Regions from separate parts of the Homo sapiens genome. Here region 1 is linked to region 2. Evidence: promoter capture Hi-C in human tissues and cell types (Jung and others, 2019). All regions are on one chromosome and are shown on one strand. The core of a region is centred on a gene start or on the middle of the fragment in contact, and the rest is flanking DNA. Distances in the headings are between cores, read along the strand shown. Region 1 has its middle 240 kb from the start of CDH20. Region 2 holds the start of CCBE1 (collagen and calcium binding EGF domains 1).

Region 1 (3,437 bases), core at 598-3,097, 1.4 Mb after region 2:
AGTTTCCCTATAACAACTTTTCACAGTCTATGGTGAGTGACTCCTTGTTAGCCTGATTCTCCTCTAGACTGTAAGTTTCTCACCTGTCATTTTCACACTTGCATCACCTCCACCTGGTACATAGTCTGGACATCATTATGTTGTCCATTGGATAATCAGATTATTTGATCAGATAATCGCCTACCCTCCCAGTAGTTTTGATGATAAAAGGAAAGCGAATAATAGGTAAACTCAGGAAGAAACTTGCAGCTGCTAGTATCTGAGCATCTGACAAGATAAGCATGAGGGTTGGCAGGAAGGGGAGACTTATTGGAGTGGAGAAGATATAGGGTGCAATGATAAAATCCATTATGTACCATTTTTCTGTGGTTACCTTGACTCACAGGCCAATATTCTCCACACATAGTGCAGCCGCCCAAGTGTGGAGCGGAGAAAACGTTTTCTCTCCCAGTGTTCCAAATCTGTCCTTCCTTGTCTGAAACTCTCCCACTTTGTGACAGCAATCCTCCGCTGCCCCTGATGCTTTAGGTCTACACACAACTCGGAGTCAGACAACTTGGGTTCATGTCTTGGTTCTGCAACCGGCTAAAAGCCAACATGTGCAAATCACTATAAAAATGAAGGCTACATGGGATAATCTCTAAGGTTACCCACAATTCTGACATTCTACATAGATGCTTACCTATCCCCTCAAACGTGAAGGCCTGGGAAACATGTGTCTGAAGTTCCAAAAGTCACCAGCAGATGGCCCACATTCTCAGTTTTGGCTTAGATCCAAATAAGATGGAGAGAGAGAGAGAGAGAGAGAGAGAGAGAGAGAGAGAGTGTGTGTGTGTGTGTGTGTGTGTGTGTGTGTGTGTGTGTGTGTATCAGTTTCAGATTCAAGTAATGACATTTGACATTCAGAATTAAATAATGAGGTGAAGGTGCCTCATTCTCAGAAAATGTTTAGTCAGCCCGCACAATAACTCCATACTCCCTACTCTCCAGCTAAGGAAGTCTTGGTGCAGAGGGATTATGAAATTCAGGTTTCCCCAGAAGTTAAAGATCAGCCTGGGCAACATAGGGAGACCTTCGTCTCTACAAATAATATGAAAAATAATATGAAAAATAGCATATGTCTGGGTCCCAGCTACTAGGGAGGCTGAGATGGGAGGATGGTTTGAGCCTGGGAGTTTGAGGCTGCAGTGAGCTATGTTTGCACCACTGCACTCCAGCCTGGAAGACAGAGTAAGATCCTGTCAGAGGAAAGAAAAAGAAAGAATGAGGAGAAATAAGAAGGAAGAAAGAAGGAAGGGAAAGAAAGAAAATAAATGTAGGCTTCAGAGCTACTCAGTGTTTAAGTCAGGATTTGAAACTAATATTCTAACATATTAGAGAGTTTCTTTAGCACCTCCAATATACTATAACCCTCCTCTTAGACAACATTTAAATAAATATCACATATTAAAAACCATAACTTATGTGACTTACTTTTAATAGACATTTAAAATAGAAACAATTGCCCTTTTAAAGCTAATTCTCATTACACTATGTAACATTTTTTCATCCATATGTTATCTTGGTATTACCCTACCTGCTGCCTCACCACCATCTCCACCATACACACTGCTTAAATATAAAGGGAAAGGAACTATACAAGAGTGACTTAACAGATTAGTGCTGATACTCTTCTGTCTCTTCTTTAGAAGTTTCTTGTAGTCTACACCAGAATGTCATTGATATAGTATATTAGTATAGAATAGCACTTAAATTACCCCAAAGTGGATTTTCTAATAGGTGATGAGATAGAATAAACTTGTTTTTTTTAAAAATGCTATTTTTTAGAGTAGTTCATAACGAAATTGAAAGGTTGGTATGGGGATATCTCATCTATCCCCTACCCTCCTACATGTACAGCTTCCCCCATTATCAACATCCCCAACCAAAGTGCTAGATTTGTTACAATTGATGCATCTACACTGACACATCACAATTACCCAAAGTCCATGGTTTACATTAGGGTTTGCTCGTGGTGGTGTACATTCTATGGGTCTGGACAAATGTATAATGACATGTATGCACCAGTCTAGCATCATACAGAGTATTTTCACTGCCCTGAAAATCCTCTGTTCTCAGCCTATTCATCTTTCCTTTCCGCCAACCCCTGACAACCACTGATCTTTTTACCCTCTCCACAGTTTTTCCAGGACGTCATATAGTTGGAATCATACAGTATCTAGCCTTTTCACGTTGACTTCTTTCACTTAGTAATACGCATTATTAAGTTTACTCCATATATTTTTATGGCTTGGTTGCTCATTTCTTTTTAACACTAAATAACATTGATTGTTTGGATGTATCACAGTTTATTTATTCATTCACGTGCTGAAGGACACCTTGGTTGCTTCCAATTTTTGGCAATTATGAATAAAGCTGCTATAAATATTTATGTGCAGGTTTTTGTGTAGACATGTTTTCAACTTCTTGGCATAAACACCAAGGAGTATGATTACTGGATCTTTTGGCAAGAGTATGCTAGTTTTGTAAGAAACTGCCAAACTGTTTTCAAAAGTGACCGTGTCATTTTTCATTTCCACCAGTGACGAATAAGAGTTCTTGATGCTCCACATTCTCGCCAACATTTGATGTTGTCAATGTTTTCAATTTTCCCATTCTAATAGGCCATATCTTATTGTTGATTTAATTTGCATTTCCCTGATGACATACGATGTGAAGCATTTTTTCTTATTTTTTTTTTGCCATATGTTTATCTTCTTTGGTGAGGTATTTTTTTTTAACATCTTTGGACCATTTTTTAAGCAGGTTGTTTGTTTTCTTATTGTTGAGTTTTAAGACTACTTAGTATATTTTGGATACAGTCCCTTATTAGATAGGGTTTTTCAAACATTTTCTCCAAGTCTGTGTATTGTCTTTTCATTCTCTTGACAGTGTCTCTTGCAAAACAGAAAATGTTAATTTTAATTAAATCTTGCTTACCAATTCTTTCATTCATGGGTTGTGTCTTTGATGTCATATCTATAAGCTATTGCCAAAATCAAGGTCGTCTAGATTTTGTCCTATGTTATCTCCTGGGATTTTTATAGTTTTGCATTTTACATTTAGGTCTGCAATCAATTTTGAGCTAACTTTTGTGAGGGATTTAAGTTCTGTGTTTACATTCTTTTTTTTTGCATATGGATATACTGTTTTTTTCAGCACTATTTGTTGAAAAGACTGTCTTTGCTTCACTGCATCGCCTTTATTTCTTTGTCAAAGAACAGTTGACCATATACATGTAACCACTAAGCATGTTAGCTGTAAATTTTATATAGATATCCTTTATCAAGTTGATGAGTTCCCTTTTATTTGAAATATACTGAAAAATTTTATCATAAATGAGTGTTAGATTTTGTCAAATGCTTTTTTGTGTCTATTGACATGATCACGTGATTTAA
Region 2 (3,747 bases), core at 984-3,483:
CATGTTAAATTCGAGGCTTTATACTGTGCTGATAGGAAAACAATGTGTCCTAAGAAACACTGTGGTCGTGTGGATGAAAGACACGGCTGGAACCAGGCAAGCAATCCTGCTGCCAGCACCACCAGGTCACTTCACCAGCTCGGTGACCTTGCTCACCCAGTTAGCCTCTTTAAGTCTTAACCTGCCAATTGAACATACTCCTTTCTCCTCTACTACCTCTCTCATTTTGTTCAGCATTCACCCCCCGCACACGCCAAGAGAAAGGAGCCTTTCCTAAGCCCAAGGAGTGACTTGATTTGCCTGATTATTGTCCCTTCACTGCCAACAACAGATTTAAGAGCAGAAGTACGCGATGTAACTGATGGTGCTTTTGCACCCATAAACTGACAGCCGTGGAACCACTTGGTCTGAACCTTTGGGTATATGAAATGCTCTCACCTGCAAGAAACGCTATGATTGATTCACAGGCTACAACCTTATAAGGAATAAAACATTGTTTTCTTTCAAGTTCGTTTCTAGGGACTGCTGCGTTACCTTGTACTACTCAGTATTTATCCTGGCAACCCGAACAGAGCATGTGAGTCTCCAGAGACAGTCAGGTGTGGGCATATGATCACATTACCTTGTACAGCGCCTCTAAAACGCAGATATCCAATAAACGTTTATGGGTGCATGTTCCCCTATCCAGTGAGAGCACTGGAACAGAACCAAGAATTCAATGGTGAAAAACCTAAATCAACCCTCATCTCCAAAAGGCTGCAAGCAGAACAGTGGTTCTCTCCTTTCAGAGACAAGAACCACCTGGGGAACATTTTATAACTACCGATTCCCTAGCCCCATCCACGCTTAGTTTTAACAAGCACCCGGGTCACTCATTTAACAAATACCCAGGTGAATCTGTGGCCCACATTTTTAGAAAGACTTTTTTCCTCTGCCCCAACAATCTTTTTGTTTTCACTCAACACAACCACTCACAATCCTCCCCCTACTTTTTTGTCCAGAGGCCGTGACAGCCACACTCTGCCCCAACAGAAGGTCAGAAGACAGACAAGTGCCAAGAATTGCCTTGTTGACGCTGTACTTTCAAAACAAAACACAAATACGAAAGCAGCCACCCGTGTTTGCTATGCCCCACTGTTTACACCCAAAATCCAATCCAATCTCCTTCACAGACTTCCACACAAGTATTTCAGGGAGCGGCAACCATCCTCAGGATCTCAGGGCACACACCCTAGACGCAAAGTCAGTTGCTCAGTGTTGCTCTGACTCCGATCCAACCAACCCTCAAAGATTCGCACCGCGCGGCACGCACCCAGCAGGTTCCAGCGTAAAAGCTGCTCCGGTCCCAAGCGCGTCTCCAAACCCCTCCTTTACAGCGCCGCCTCCCCAGCCAGCCCCGGTGCGCAGTGGCGAACAGCCCGCAGAGCCCCCAGGCTTACCTGTAGCATGTGGTGAGCTCGCCTGAAGACTTCAGACACGGGTATTTAGTCGTCGCGATTTTGCTCTCTGAGCAGATTTCTCTATGAAAAAGTGCAGAGGAAATGTTCGATTCTCAGCGGGAGAGCGGAGGCGGGCAGCGCGCGCTGGGGAATCCCTGGCGCGTGGGGATCGCCAGGCTCCCCGTCCCGGCGCTCTGGGCAGGGGCTGGTCCCCAAACGCGTACGCGGGGCAGACTCCGGCCACAGGGACGAGCCACGCGAGGGTCACGACGAAGCGAACCAGCTCCAGGAGAAAGGAAGCGGGGTTCACGAGCTGTGCCAGCCAGTGTGGCACCCGGGGGGAGGCAGGAACGCGGGGCGAAGGGTATCCCTGACGCGACCCACGGATGGCAGGGCGCAAAGGCTGATACCCGGGAGCGGAGGGAAGTGTCGCCCAGGACAGCTGAGCACTCTCCTTATCCCCGGAGAAGTGAGGGCGTGCGGATCGCTGTGGGAGTGGGCGCCGGGGAGGACCGCCCGCACCCCGCGAGCCGGGCGCGCATCAAGCAGGAGCTCGCCCTCCGCTGGGGCTTGCAGCGCTTACCTGTCGCCGTCCTCCGGCTCCTCTCTGTAGGTCCACGTGTGTCCCAACGCCAGGAGCAGCAGCAGCGGACCCAGGCTCCTGCCCAGCTGGCCCCTGGCAGCTCCTCCCCGGCTCGGAGGCGGCGGCACCATCAGGGAAGCTCCCGGCTTCTTCCCAGCGCCGAGCTCCGTCCGGACCAAGCGTCCTGCTCCTCCGCGGCCGCCGCCGCCTTCCCTCTTCCCGGCAGGGGGCGCCGGAGAGCAGGGGCGTTTGCACCACCTGCACGGGGAGCAGGGGTCCGGAATATTATGGGGCTGGGGGGAAAATGAGGCTAGGAGTTGGGGTATCGGATGCAAACCCAGCAGAGAAGCAGGTAAAGGGGGTACCTGCGGTGTCCGGCTGGCGCGAGGGCCCTGAGGTTCAAGTTGTCTCGTCGGGACGTTCACGTCCGATTGACAGACTTGCTGGACTCGGCTTGGGGCTGCGCCCTCGCCTCTTCCCTCTCCCTCCTCTGGGAGAAGCGCGCAGGGTGGGGAAAGCGGGCGGTTGTTTGCATTTTGCACCAGGGTCTCACGACCGGGAGGAGGAGGAGCTGATTCTCCACCGGGGAGAAGAGGGAGGGGGAAGAGAGGGGTTAATAAGCTTCCTTCCTGTTGTCCATGGGTTTCTAAAGCCCAGGGTCAGGCCAGTGTTCGTCTTTCCTCCGTGAGGACCTACCCTGAGATTTGCAACTATCTTAGTCTTCTTTTCTCTTAGATTATGTGAGGAAGGAGGAGTTGAAAGGCTACAACGGGCCTCTCAAATTGTTCAAACCTGAAATAGCGCTATTTATATAGTGTAATCACTCTTCCTTAAAACCTTTAGAAGAAAGTTCTCTGGTTGTTTCATTGGTCAATAAACCATGCGCTGTCTTCTTCATAACTCGAGTTCGGAACAAGTAAGGAGGTCTTTCTGGGAGCCTTACATCTCCTTGTCCTGAGCGGCTTTAATACTGTTTCCACGCCGCGCACATCAGAGCTGGAAACGCCCCCCCCCATCAAATGAGACACGTGGGGGCAAATTAATTACAGGTGCTGCTACCTGCTAGTGTATGCAGCCGCGTTGATAGGTAACAAGAAAACGGAGGAGGGGGGCCGTAAATCGGCTCCCTTGACGGTGACCCTAATTGTAATTCGTGTGTCAGCAACTTAACACTTTGTTGCGCTTTAGGAGTTTTCTCAGCCTTTTCCAGAGAAACTGGGGACGTGGATGTGGCCCAGAAATAAGTTGAAAAAGGAAAAGTTCTAATGCCTAAGCTCTAAAATATGCGTGGTTCTGCATCTCACAGGACAACGAGGTAAAAAGGTGGCTTGTTCACAAGTGACCGGTGTGTAAATTGGTTAGGTAAGCACATATTTTGATATACAGAATATGCTGGTCAACTGAGAATTACCACACATATCACATACACATTGACTTTTTTTTTTTTTTGAGACGGAGTCTCACTCTGTCGCCCAGGCTGGAGTGCAGTGTCTCGATCTTGGCTCACTGCAACCTCCGCCTGCCGGGTTCAAGAGATTCTTCTGCCTCAGCACCCCAAGTAGCAGGGATTACAGATGCATGCTTCCACACCCGGCTAATTTTTGTATTTTTAGTAGAGACAGAGTTTCACCATGTTGGCCAGGCTGCTCTTAAACTCCTGGCCTCAAGTGATCTGCCCAACTCGGCCTCCCAAAGTGCTGGGATTACAGGCGTGAGCCATAGCAG

The links. Contacts are between HindIII fragments. The study calls those that stand out against the background at their distance.
Region 1: a fragment that was not itself captured here is called in contact with the fragment with the promoter of CCBE1 in region 2 in 1 of the 25 tissues and cell types used here (lymphoblastoid cells).

What each region holds. Positions count from the first base shown.
Region 1 is chr18:61,088,142-61,091,578 of GRCh38, forward strand. No RefSeq gene overlaps it. Among named protein-coding and RNA genes, the nearest start is that of CDH20, 240 kb to the right of the region's middle. The HindIII fragment of the contact is 6,944 bases long and covers 1-3,437 here.
Region 2 is chr18:59,695,190-59,698,936 of GRCh38, forward strand. CCBE1 (collagen and calcium binding EGF domains 1) reads right to left here and starts at 2,234. Exons shown (of 11, transcript NM_133459.4): 1 at 2,023-2,234; 2 at 1,440-1,520. The coding sequence starts at 2,153. The HindIII fragment of the contact is 11,314 bases long and covers 1-3,747 here.